Linked DNA regions of Homo sapiens: region 1 is linked to region 2. Evidence: promoter capture Hi-C in 16 types of primary human blood cells and fetal thymus (Javierre and others, 2016). All regions are on one chromosome and are shown on one strand. Each heading gives the region's core, a stretch centred on a gene start or on the middle of the fragment in contact. The rest is flanking DNA. Distances are from core to core; before and after follow the strand shown.

Region 1 (6,624 bases), core at 770-3,269, 230 kb after region 2:
AGTACAAGAGTTTCTGTCACTGTGGAGTTGGGGTATGCCACCCTACTGGTACATGGATCCAGTCTTACAGGGATTTTTATGGAGGCTTCATCACATAAGTATGATTATTAACTCAATCTTTAACTCCTCTCCCCTTCATGGAGAATGGGAAATGAAGCTGAAACTTCAAAGCTTCTAAGCATGGTGTAGTCTGTCTGGTGACCAGCCCCCATCTGGAAGTCCACCAAGAGTCAACTCATTAGAAAAAAAGATGCTCCTATCATGCATGCAGGAAGTTCTAAGGGATTTAGGAGCTCTGTGTCAGGAATCAGGCTAAAGACCAAATACTAATACAAAAGATGCTTCTAGCACTCCTGTTGCCTGGGAAATTATAAGGGTTTTGGAGCCTTGTGTCAGGAACTGGGGAAAGAGACCAATATATATATATATTTGTTATTCTTTCATGCTGGTTGTCACACATAACATGGTACTGAGACTTTCTGTGTCTCAGCTGCTGAATGAAGTGAGTTAATATGTTCTTAGCACTTGGCAAGTTCTCAAGAAAATGAAGCTATTATTATTATTATATTATCAATAATAATATGTATATCTCACTAAGGAGACCTCTGCTTCCTTCCACATATTCTGTGTGGTGCTGGAATTCTATACTATGTAGCTGAACACAGAGCTCCCTAGAATATGAGGTCTCATGTCTATTGGGAAGAGAATTCAGCTCTAAGCCCTGCCAGATTCTTGTACCCCAGTCAAGCAATGCTAGATGTTTATTGAACACCATTTATTTTATCAGAGAAACACTAATTGTGATATCCCTATGATTAATGACATATCTAACATGAAACTCAAAATTTGGTCTTCAGACCTATGACATCCATGTCACCTGGGACTTGTTAGAAATACAGAATTGCAGACCTCATCCCAGACATGCTGAGTCATAATTTACAAGATCTCCAGATGATTCATCTGCACATTCAAATTTGGGAAGCAAAATTTTAGCGCCAACTGAGAGAACCAAGGCTCCCTTAGCTGGAGCATGAACTTTGAGCTGAAGCCTTGTGAAAGCTAACCAGCCATGCTGCAGTGTGCCTCCAGATCTGGGCACGTGCATGTTCAGCAACCAACCCAAGATGAAGATGAAAACCACCTATACTCATCTGGATAGCACAGGGTCACTGCTAATATATTTAAAAGTAAATAAGAAATGATTTTAAAATTTCTCTCTTATATAAACTTCAGTAAAAAGATCAGCAGGGGCCTCTGATGAGTAATCATGAAGACCCTAGGTCAATCTTCAAACACTCACGAAATGATGTTTGAAGCCCTTGCGAAGAAATACAAAAAATGAGAGAGAAGAGGTTTAATGAGAAGCATAATTCTAGAATCTACCTCTGGTCCTACTGCCACCAGATCTGTGACTTTAGGCAAGTCACTTAACCCCTTTGAATCTCCATTGTGAAATGGAAATTTAACTGGTTAAATAGAAATTTGACTTGTTAAACAGAAATTATAATAGCTGTCTTATCTACTTCACAAGGTTGTCTACTGATGGATATCATGAAGTAATTCCAGTTTCAAAAGTTGTAAATATATTCTGCAAATATACCACAAAGAACTTGCAGCTTCCTATAGTCACCAAAAGTGTCTAAGCAAAAACTGTAGCCCAGGACCTGAGCTGAGGGATGACTACATTATAACAACTAGGAATTCTTGTCACCTTACTTTTTTAAGTCTTCACGTACATTGCACATTTAATACCTCCAAAATTATGAAGAAAAGTATTATTATTATTCTAATATTGACCTGGACATGAAGGCAGAGAATAAGTGTTATTCCAAAATCAGTATATTTGTCAATCATCATTCTCCATTTTCTCTTCCAATCTGACTCAGACATTTATTTCATAGGCCATAGCTCTCCTTGTGGAAACAACCATCGAAACTGTGACTTCAGACATTTTCAAATTGTGCATACGTGCTTTGAGAAAATGGAATAGTCCTGAGAAGTATGACTCCTAGAGAGATTGCTGTTTCGTAAACGGAATTTAACTCCCAGAGAACTGGACCTCACTTTCTCTCTAGCCCTCCAAGAGAAAGAACTTTAGGTGGAAAAAGACTTCTCAAGGTACAAACAAATTTAGCTATCAAAGTAGGTAATGGTGGAAATGAATGAGAATCATAGTTAATCAGGCAGACTTCACTGTTTTACAAAGAAATTCACATAATTTCCTGAATTTGGTGGATTTGGAACACCCTCCATCCAGATCTCAATTAGGAATAAGGTTTAGGATCATAATATTTTTGTGCTAGAGGTGACCTAGGTGCTGTGAGTTAAACTCTCATGTAACAGGGAAGGGAGATTTGCCTCATGGAGATCGAGTGACTCGTCCAGTTTAAAAATTTAGATATGATAGTTGTGGGATCAGAAAGTAGGACTTCCGAAACCCCATATACAGCTTTTTGTTTGATGTGATTGGAACTTGTTCCTAGGAGTCATGTTTATTAGGTTATAAAAGTGTCACATTATGAGCTGGTTCATTCCAGGCCATGAGCCCAAGTTAAGCCTTACATGGAAGTTCCAGAGGTCACCCTCAGCTCACTTGCTCTATTTTGCAAGGCTTCTAAAATTCCATAGTTATTAATTCTTCTGTGGATTTGATATCACCATGGAAAATATGTACAAATTGGCTCAGTTAAGACTGCATAGAATTGAAGAAGTGAAGGTAGACAGAAAAAAAATGTGAGGAGACGTAAGACAAGTTAGTTTAACTTTTAACCATTTCTCATTAAAAATGAACAGCTAGAACTTCATCAAGACGAACATCATCAAAAAAGGGGGGAAAAACAAACTTCCATATCAAATAAATTAGTCTCCATTAATCAACATATTTGTGACAACTTTTCTCCAATGAAATACTTGATCAATGACTTTCTTCTCTAGGTCTGTAAGTGGATGGCATTGGGACTATGTTTCCTCCTCTTTGTAAGGGCCAATCACAGATGGCTGGTATTTCGCATTCTATTTTCCATTGCCCCTGGGCTCCAACCGGCCCAGATGTCTCTTCCAAGAGTTGACGGTTAAAAGACTAAGATCAGTCCCAATATGTGGCCACTATTTTAATAAATATTTTCCTACTCATAGAAATATTCATCGATGCTTCTTTAACATTGAAAAGAGAGATTTACATTTTTAAATGTTGCATTTTGAATTAGGTTATAGAAGAATAACACGATGACCAATTTTCCACTTGCCGTTGGTTATTTGACTACTAATTTGATTGTAGAATTGTTCTTATGTTGTAGTCGTTGTTTAGGCTAAACTAAGCATTCAAGTGGGTTTTAAATTGCTGCTTTCAAATTGACTCACAGTCAAAATATACAGAAAATACGTTATACAGTTACTAATCAGATTCAGTAGTATTTTTAAAAATCCTTATATTCTATTTGAAAAATAAGATAATTGTAGATATAAAATGAAACGGTGTTTACTTCCTTTAGCTAAAAGAATAAAAAAATAAATGATATAGAAAAAGTATTATAAAAAAGAAAATGGCAAATATTTGCCTTTATGAATTTTTCTCTCATAGAATACACGTCTAATACAAAATGGGGACAATTCAGTGAAGAAACACAAATTTATAGCATTTTAGAGAAGAACTAAGAAATAGCTGGATTCTACAGCATAATCATGTCATCACATGTTTGTGGAAAGCAAACAGTTAAATGGAAATCAAAAGCTCAAAGTTTAGATACCTTCTAATCTTGAATACCTAAAATATATTTTAACTTCAGTTAAAAATAGATTGTAGATTTTGAAGAACAAAGAACAACTTAGTTAAAAGAACTAGCCCTAAACTTCCGGATTGAAGCTTAGTATTTTCCCCGACTTGGATACAGGACTTTCTATTTATCCCTGTGAGTGGGCAGGGCAATGTGTAGAGTTAACCACCTACTATAGATTTTGCCTGTAAAACTTCTGAGATTTATGGGCAGATAAGATCATATGCACCCTCTTCTGAAGGAGCAGGACCTTGTGAAAAGTTTTCAAACAGCTTCATACAGAACAGCCCCTGATGCCAGTGGGCCACCTGGGCAGCTCACTCTGTCCTCCGAGCGGCCTCTTCCTCTGTGTTCTGGCCAGACTCTAAGACCAAGCATTCGTCATTGGACAACACTTCTTTTCTGAGGATACAAGGAATAGAAATGATAAGATTTGCAATGTTCATCCATCCTTTCAGTCAACAGCCCAGCCATTTCACTGGCTATGCAAAGAGGCAGAAATATCGCTGAATGGTGAAAAACAGCTCCCCCATATTCAGCAGTGTCTGCTCTTCATGGCTCTGAACCATAGGATGGAGAGGCAAGGGTGAGCAACGGAGTCTTTATCCCTCCCCTCATGGAGTTTACAGAAAAAAGTTCTCCCTGTCGCTGTTCAGTCTGTGAATAGTAACCACTGCCTCTTCTGGAAGCTAAATAATTTACTCCTTTTGACCTTCACATAGAAATCTCTTCCAGCAAATCCCTTAGAATTCCATAAAAGAAACTTTATGAGTGAAATCCATCCAATAAATTCTCAATGAGCCAGTCATGGAATCATGAAACCGCTTAGGTGCCCAGCTTCCTTCTCTGCAGAGGAAAAGAAGGTTTCCTTGTGCTTGTCCCTTCCTTGGGAAGCCCAGCTCCTAGTGAGTGGGCAATCCGTTGCCAGCCCAAGCCAACACTCAGGGTACAGCCTGATTTCCACTCCCTTGAAACATAAACCTCTCTGTTCAGCAGCAGCTTCTGGCTCCAGAGTCTTTTTATTTCTCCAAACTGCTGCCTCTGTTTGGATGAAATAGCATTTTAACACATCTGAATTTTCTGTTTGAGGTATATTTTCAGACATGGAATAAAAAAAAAAAACACTTCCCTGCTCAATATATTTTTCTCAGAGTCATTTCGAAGATAGTAAGACAGATGTATTTTTTATGCCAAAAATAATTATCTCTTCCTATAAATTTTTTGGGACTGGATTTCAGGGTCTTAATAGCTTTCTTGGGATCCTTTGTATTTAGAGAATTTCTTCATGGTGACATTCCAAGTTAGTTTTTAAATCTATCAGCTATAGCAGAGGTGGAAAAATTGTGGCCCCTGGTGTAACTAAAGTTTCACTGGAACACATCCATGTATTCAGTTATAGATTGTCTATTGCTACCTTTCTGCTACAACAGCAGAGTTGAGCGGTTGGGACACAGACAGTATGACCCACAGAACCTAACAATTTCCTCTTTGGCCCTTTACAGAAAACATCTGCCGACCCATGTTGTGTAGCCGAAAAGCCAACCTCCCATTCCCTGCGTATACCATGTTCTCATTCTCACACTAAGTTTTCCACATTCATTTACTGTTCTTTTCAGCTCTTTTTTCTTATTCATCCTGGAGCTTTGGTTCATGATATTCTAAACACGGAGCCTCCTGCCTTTCCCAAAATGATTACTGATTCTACCCCAGCCTTCAAATTCAACTTATTGATGACTCTGCAGTGATGGAAGTAGTATGAGAAACCTACAGTCCCCAACCCCGTGCTCCACACTGGCTGTATTTTCTTGCCCAGAATATGAATATATTTTTAGCATATCTATGCCTTAGAATCTTTCCAGATTAACACATTCTTTAATCACTATCTCACGAATTTAATTTTCCATCTTGCCCTGTGCTAGATGCATTTCTAGGTGTTTTATGCTCCAAACACAGTTTATCATCAGTGCCTCCATGGCACTCCAAAGTTGGATTATTAAGTCCACTCTGTAGATGCCAGACTGAGGTGCAGGGGGTTAGGTAATTTGCTCAAGTTTACAAAGCTAGTAATTGGTGGAGCCAGAATTTAAAGTCACTCTTGCTCCCAGTTGCCTACAAAAAATCTTCATTACATTGCATTGCCAGAAAACACTAAAGAGTAAATTATTTTTACTATTCTAGTGGAAATACTTCTAAAATATTCTACATACTTCTCTGCCATTTCAATTAGATCATATTGAACATAAGTTAACCTCTTCAGGACTAGTTAATATCATAGCTATTATAAATGTTATAGTGGTATAGAAGCATTTGAATCTACAAAGTGACTTACTGGCTGCATAAACTTAGGCAACTAACAGCCTCTCTGAGGTTCAGCTGCCTCATCTGCACAGTGAAGTTAGTCATATACTCACAAAAGATAACATAAAATGCCATGAATGAATCAGGCACAGAGGAAGGATGCACTAGGTGGTTATTATTATTAGATTATTGGATTATTGAGGATACTCTTTAACTTGGCTGCCTGAAGACCATTTAGACTTACTTCCTCAGTGCTTAGAACTACTGCCAAGAACATCAAACAAGTTTAAGTGATAAACTGATATTTGCACTCCTGCGGCCTATCTCTGGACTAGATTGTGTCTTGTTGGAGTTCAGTGCCTATGATCTGTATATTTTCTGCTGCAGCTGGTATCTCTAGTACCGAATATTGTTTCATGAGGATTTACTCTGGCTGTTGATAGAGACAGAAAGTCTTGTCTTTAGCCCTGGCTGTCACGTGGACAACAGGCATAGATAACAACAGTCAGTCCCAGTGTCTAGCCAGCCTCAGCTCTCCATGGGACTGCCTGGG
Region 2 (6,118 bases), core at 3,166-5,665:
CAACATGAGCGCGGGCTCCATGAACATGTCGTCGTACGTGGGCGCTGGCATGAGCCCGTCCCTGGCGGGGATGTCCCCCGGCGCGGGCGCCATGGCGGGCATGGGCGGCTCGGCCGGGGCGGCCGGCGTGGCGGGCATGGGGCCGCACTTGAGTCCCAGCCTGAGCCCGCTCGGGGGGCAGGCGGCCGGGGCCATGGGCGGCCTGGCCCCCTACGCCAACATGAACTCCATGAGCCCCATGTACGGGCAGGCGGGCCTGAGCCGCGCCCGCGACCCCAAGACCTACAGGCGCAGCTACACGCACGCAAAGCCGCCCTACTCGTACATCTCGCTCATCACCATGGCCATCCAGCAGAGCCCCAACAAGATGCTGACGCTGAGCGAGATCTACCAGTGGATCATGGACCTCTTCCCCTTCTACCGGCAGAACCAGCAGCGCTGGCAGAACTCCATCCGCCACTCGCTCTCCTTCAACGACTGTTTCCTGAAGGTGCCCCGCTCGCCCGACAAGCCCGGCAAGGGCTCCTTCTGGACCCTGCACCCTGACTCGGGCAACATGTTCGAGAACGGCTGCTACCTGCGCCGCCAGAAGCGCTTCAAGTGCGAGAAGCAGCTGGCGCTGAAGGAGGCCGCAGGCGCCGCCGGCAGCGGCAAGAAGGCGGCCGCCGGAGCCCAGGCCTCACAGGCTCAACTCGGGGAGGCCGCCGGGCCGGCCTCCGAGACTCCGGCGGGCACCGAGTCGCCTCACTCGAGCGCCTCCCCGTGCCAGGAGCACAAGCGAGGGGGCCTGGGAGAGCTGAAGGGGACGCCGGCTGCGGCGCTGAGCCCCCCAGAGCCGGCGCCCTCTCCCGGGCAGCAGCAGCAGGCCGCGGCCCACCTGCTGGGCCCGCCCCACCACCCGGGCCTGCCGCCTGAGGCCCACCTGAAGCCGGAACACCACTACGCCTTCAACCACCCGTTCTCCATCAACAACCTCATGTCCTCGGAGCAGCAGCACCACCACAGCCACCACCACCACCAACCCCACAAAATGGACCTCAAGGCCTACGAACAGGTGATGCACTACCCCGGCTACGGTTCCCCCATGCCTGGCAGCTTGGCCATGGGCCCGGTCACGAACAAAACGGGCCTGGACGCCTCGCCCCTGGCCGCAGATACCTCCTACTACCAGGGGGTGTACTCCCGGCCCATTATGAACTCCTCTTAAGAAGACGACGGCTTCAGGCCCGGCTAACTCTGGCACCCCGGATCGAGGACAAGTGAGAGAGCAAGTGGGGGTCGAGACTTTGGGGAGACGGTGTTGCAGAGACGCAAGGGAGAAGAAATCCATAACACCCCCACCCCAACACCCCCAAGACAGCAGTCTTCTTCACCCGCTGCAGCCGTTCCGTCCCAAACAGAGGGCCACACAGATACCCCACGTTCTATATAAGGAGGAAAACGGGAAAGAATATAAAGTTAAAAAAAAGCCTCCGGTTTCCACTACTGTGTAGACTCCTGCTTCTTCAAGCACCTGCAGATTCTGATTTTTTTGTTGTTGTTGTTCTCCTCCATTGCTGTTGTTGCAGGGAAGTCTTACTTAAAAAAAAAAAAAAATTTTGTGAGTGACTCGGTGTAAAACCATGTAGTTTTAACAGAACCAGAGGGTTGTACTATTGTTTAAAAACAGGAAAAAAAATAATGTAAGGGTCTGTTGTAAATGACCAAGAAAAAGAAAAAAAAAGCATTCCCAATCTTGACACGGTGAAATCCAGGTCTCGGGTCCGATTAATTTATGGTTTCTGCGTGCTTTATTTATGGCTTATAAATGTGTATTCTGGCTGCAAGGGCCAGAGTTCCACAAATCTATATTAAAGTGTTATACCCGGTTTTATCCCTTGAATCTTTTCTTCCAGATTTTTCTTTTCTTTACTTGGCTTACAAAATATACAGGCTTGGAAATTATTTCAAGAAGGAGGGAGGGATACCCTGTCTGGTTGCAGGTTGTATTTTATTTTGGCCCAGGGAGTGTTGCTGTTTTCCCAACATTTTATTAATAAAATTTTCAGACATACCAAAATTGAATGAATTTTACAGTAGGCACACAGGGACCTGCTCCCGAGATTCTGCAATTAACATTTCATTATACTTGCTTTATCACATACTTGTCCATCTATCTTCACCTCCACTGGTCAATCCATCTTATTTCTCTAAATCCACTTCAAATTTGCAGATACCAGTACACATCCCCCTAAACACTAAAGCAAGCACATTATTAAATGGAACTTGTATGGTTTATGGTTACTTTTTGAATTTGGGGGTTAACTTTACACACAATGAAATACACAGATCCCAGGAAGACCATTCCAGCAGGTTTATTTTTAAAGCCAGTAGAAGATCACTCTCCACATATCACAATTTTCCACCTTGGCTGTTTGAATGTGCCCTGTTGTTGTGGTCTCTTGGGCCCCACAGCTTGCTTCTCTTGGGGGAAGCCTCAATTTCACATGTTTTTGCTGTACTTCTGATCTTGGGCCTCCCTTCAGGTCAATGAGCCTGGATCAAACTTGCAAATTTGTGGTGCAGCACTTTGCCTGTTCACCACTGTGAACAGTGGTGGAATTGGGACTCTGCCTGGATCTTCCAGCCTCCTCTGTACACAGGGTGCCACCCTTTCCCACCCTTCTCCCTGGAGCAGGTATTGTGCACAACCATGGCAGACCTTTCTAACCCAGAAAGACCTTACTAACCCAGAAATGGCGAGACACTTGGTGTAGGGAAACATTTAGAAGATCTTCTCCTGGAATTGGTTTGAAAGGGTAAGTCAGGGTAACAATCCAAGTCTGTTTTTTAAAAATAGGGTATATTTGGGAGTGAGGAGGAGGTAAGGGGTGTCTGGCCAATGGACCATGACAGTAGTGAAGATGCCACTGTCGGCAAATTTGCTCCCCATCTCCCTCCAAAACTCAAGGCTCTTGCAAATCTTCTTGTAAGTTAGGTGAGGTTGGCAATCCAGGTTTGCAGGGTCCAGGGGTTATGCAGGTATTTTGTGAGCCTTCAAGGACTCTAAAAGTATAACGAAAAATCCCAGAGTGAATTCTTATACACCATGCTGCCTCTCCCCCCAGACGACCTCGCTGGCCTAAAAGGACGGCCAACGGCAGTGAAAACCAAGGCCGACAGCGCAAAGGGGAGTCTGGTGTTGGTTTTGCCCAGGACATCTGCTGGCTGGGCGAGGGCAGGATCAGTGTCGTCGCGGGTCAGGCAGACTTGGGAGCCACTCCCGCGCGCAGTGGCTTGCGGTGGGTAAAAACACTCCGAAAGCCTGGAGGCTAGGACTTTTTGCCTCAGGTTTCTAAGCTCAGGCTCCTTTTTTCAAGATTAGATCTTTGGGCTTCTTGACCATCCTAACCTGGAGTGTTCCAGCTACGCCCCAGACCTGGAGACTGTCTTTGAGTGCTACCTTGCTGGGGTCTCTGCCACCCCATCCCCCACCCCGCCGCCTTCCCCAACAAGCCTGGCCTTCCCACGCGCTTGAGGGGGGTTTGGCATCGCCTCCGCCTCCCACCCGCCACTGCCCCCCTCCCGCCACCAAATCCCTTTCTTAACATGCCACATTGTCCCGAAGAACACAAGGAAGAGAAATTGGGGAGGGGGGGATCCGGAGGCCACAGCCAGCAATCAGGCCGTCTCTCCTCCTAGCAAGGACACACACGTCGTGAGCCCGGCCTGAAATGTGTTTCATTATCACATAAAAGGCTCCCGTGGCGAAGGAGCCGAGAGGCAGGGCCGGGGGCCGAGTGGGGGACAATGGAGGCTGAAAGCGCTGCCCTAACCTGCTATGTTTCGTATGGCACGCCCATTGTGCGAGGGTCGTTTTAAACTACTTAGCGCGCCCCCCTTCACTGATCCCGGCCGATAAGATATAGTTCTGTCCGAATACATAAAAAGGATGTCGGGGAGCAGGCGCTTTCGGAGGCTTTTCTGTGCTTCTTGTGTCTTTCACGCCCCCCTCCCGCTTAAATCCCTCCCCTAGCCCGGGTTCCGAGATAACGAGCTCACAAATCGCCACTGCGCGCTTTCCCCAACTCTACTCATTGTGGGGTGCAGAGACTCTCCCCCCTCCTTTTTTTCCTTTTTTCCCCACGCTTTCCGCGCGCCGGTTTAAGCAACCATGATCTGTGAATAAACAAAGTCTGTAAACAACCGAAAAAAACATTCTAGATCCGAATTCCAGGAGGGTAAACTTTCCATGCCACGTCACACTTCAGCAAATTTGCACAGATATTATATTGCCTCCCCCCTCCTTTATTATTCTTTTTTTTTTTTTTTTGCCAGGATCCCATTGTACTTAACTGAATTTTATAACGCTGATCGATATCTTGGTAAAATATTCATTTTTAAACTAGCGGGCAGTGAAATCTTTGCTTTGTGTGCTAAAGTCAACAGTCGCTTGGTTTGAGCTCAAATAAATGCGGGGATGCCTCGGCTCGGAGCAGTCGGCCTCCTCCCTCCGCGAGCTGGACGCTCCGCAGCCCGCCCGCCAGCCGGCCCGCCGGCCGCCGCAGGTAGGGAGCGCGCCCACCCGGGGACCGCGCCCGGCTCCCCTCCTCAGCGTCCGCACCCCACTCCTGTCCGCTCACCGCCCCTCCCCCAGCCAGTCCTTCTCCCTTCCAGGGCTCGGACGCCCGGGCGGGCTTGGCTGGTGGTAAGCTCAGCCAACTGAGACTCAAGGCGTTGGGTTTTTTTGCAGGGGGTTCGGAAAGTGCATGACTTGGAAGGATGAGGGGTCGTAGAGTTGCAAACTCAGACCGCTTAGGCTCTGAGCTCAGTTAGAGGAGTTTGGTAGGGCCCCGAGGAAGCCACACAGGCCCCTCGAGCGGCTCGGGTCTGGGGATTCGATCTGAGAGCAGCATGTTTCCAGAGAACAGTGGAGGGTGGGGTGTGGGGAACCCCCTTGGCCCCAGAATCTAGTGTGGGGGTCAGCAGAAAATGATGTGCGTGGTGCATGGGAGTTTGAAGAGGCTGAGGCCGGAGCATGGTGACGCCCTCCCCTTGGCGCGCAGGGGTTCGAGTCCAGTCTCAACTCTTTCTCGGACACAGGCAGGCCGAGGAGACGATGGGGATCGTCATCAAGCAGCAGCAGGGGAGGGGCCGCGCCTTTCTAAGAGGCGAGTGAACCTTAGCTCTGGCTGCAGGAAGCGGCTGGTGGCCTTTTGCGCACAGCCGTGCTTGGCGGCAGGCAGGTTGGGGAGCCTCTGGGGTTACGAGCTGGGTCCAGGAGAGAAAGTCAGAAAGCAGACGCAGGGCCATTTATCATCGCATTCTCCCTGCAACCCAGTCGCCGATTTCCCCCCTTCCACGGGCAGGAGCACGCTCGCGCGTGCCGGGCTTGCCCTCGGGAATTCCGGAGGACGCGAGTTTGTAGGACCCAACAGAACCAGCCGCGTCTTTCCGCCGCCTGCGGAAAGGCGTGGACCTCGGAAAAATAGTAGTTCTGCTGCTGCCCCTTGAAACCTCATAAAGTTGTATTTCCCCAGGTGTCTACCAGCGCCCCCCCCCAATCCCTGCCCCCACGCCAGATCCACATTCTCTCTGGGGTCTTTTCTTTAAACGCCTGGGTAGCAGGCACTGTGAGAGGCCCGTGCCTGGCTGGGTTACTTTGGGTCTTTGGTCTGATGCGACAGGGAACTGGCACATGGAAATTGCCCACCACCCCCGACCGGAAAGCTTTTCCCATCTGCGCCGCAGTCACCAGACTTCGAACCCAAGTGGGCAGAAATCTGTTTCGTTGTTCAGCAGGGTCAGTGTTATGTAGTCACCTTCCTGTGTGGGGACCCTTGGTGGCCCCTCCTCTCCTTCCCTGGTGCCTTGGGCTGTGCGCCCGTGTCCACCGCACCCGAAGCCTGCTGGGGAGCGCGCCCGCCGCCCTCCGAGCCCCGGCTCGCCTCGGGTGGCTGGTTATCTTCGCTGAACATGATGGGACGCCTGCAGGACACACGGCAAGGCTAATCGTTTTTAAATAATTAATGCCTCCCGTTCCGCTGGTAATGCGCGGCGTCGAATCCTTCAATTACTTGTCATTAGACGGGTGTCGCCCCACGGCCTTCCCTCGGGCCTTTGATGGCCCCGGGTCCCC

What was found. Contacts are between HindIII fragments. The CHiCAGO score rates a contact against its expected background, and 5 or more counts as called.
Region 1: a contact is called between a fragment that was not itself captured here and the fragment with the promoter of LINC00261 in region 2, in 2 of 17 cell types (erythroblasts and naive B cells). The highest score is 5.7, in erythroblasts.

Annotation. Positions count from the first base shown.
Region 1 is chr20:22,348,135-22,354,758 of GRCh38, reverse strand. No RefSeq gene overlaps it. Among named protein-coding and RNA genes, the nearest start is that of LINC01427, 69 kb to the right of the region's middle. The HindIII fragment of the contact is 3,691 bases long and covers 174-3,864 here.
Region 2 is chr20:22,576,939-22,583,056 of GRCh38, reverse strand. LINC00261 (long intergenic non-protein coding RNA 261) reads left to right here and starts at 4,415. Exons shown (of 4, transcript NR_001558.3): 1 at 4,415-4,547. FOXA2 (forkhead box A2) reads left to right here. Exons shown (of 2, transcript NM_021784.5): 2 at 1-2,059. The coding sequence ends at 1,207. RefSeq lists enhancers at 1-452, 453-1,024, 2,701-3,656, 3,657-4,612, 4,613-5,568. The HindIII fragment of the contact is 8,652 bases long and covers 1-5,711 here.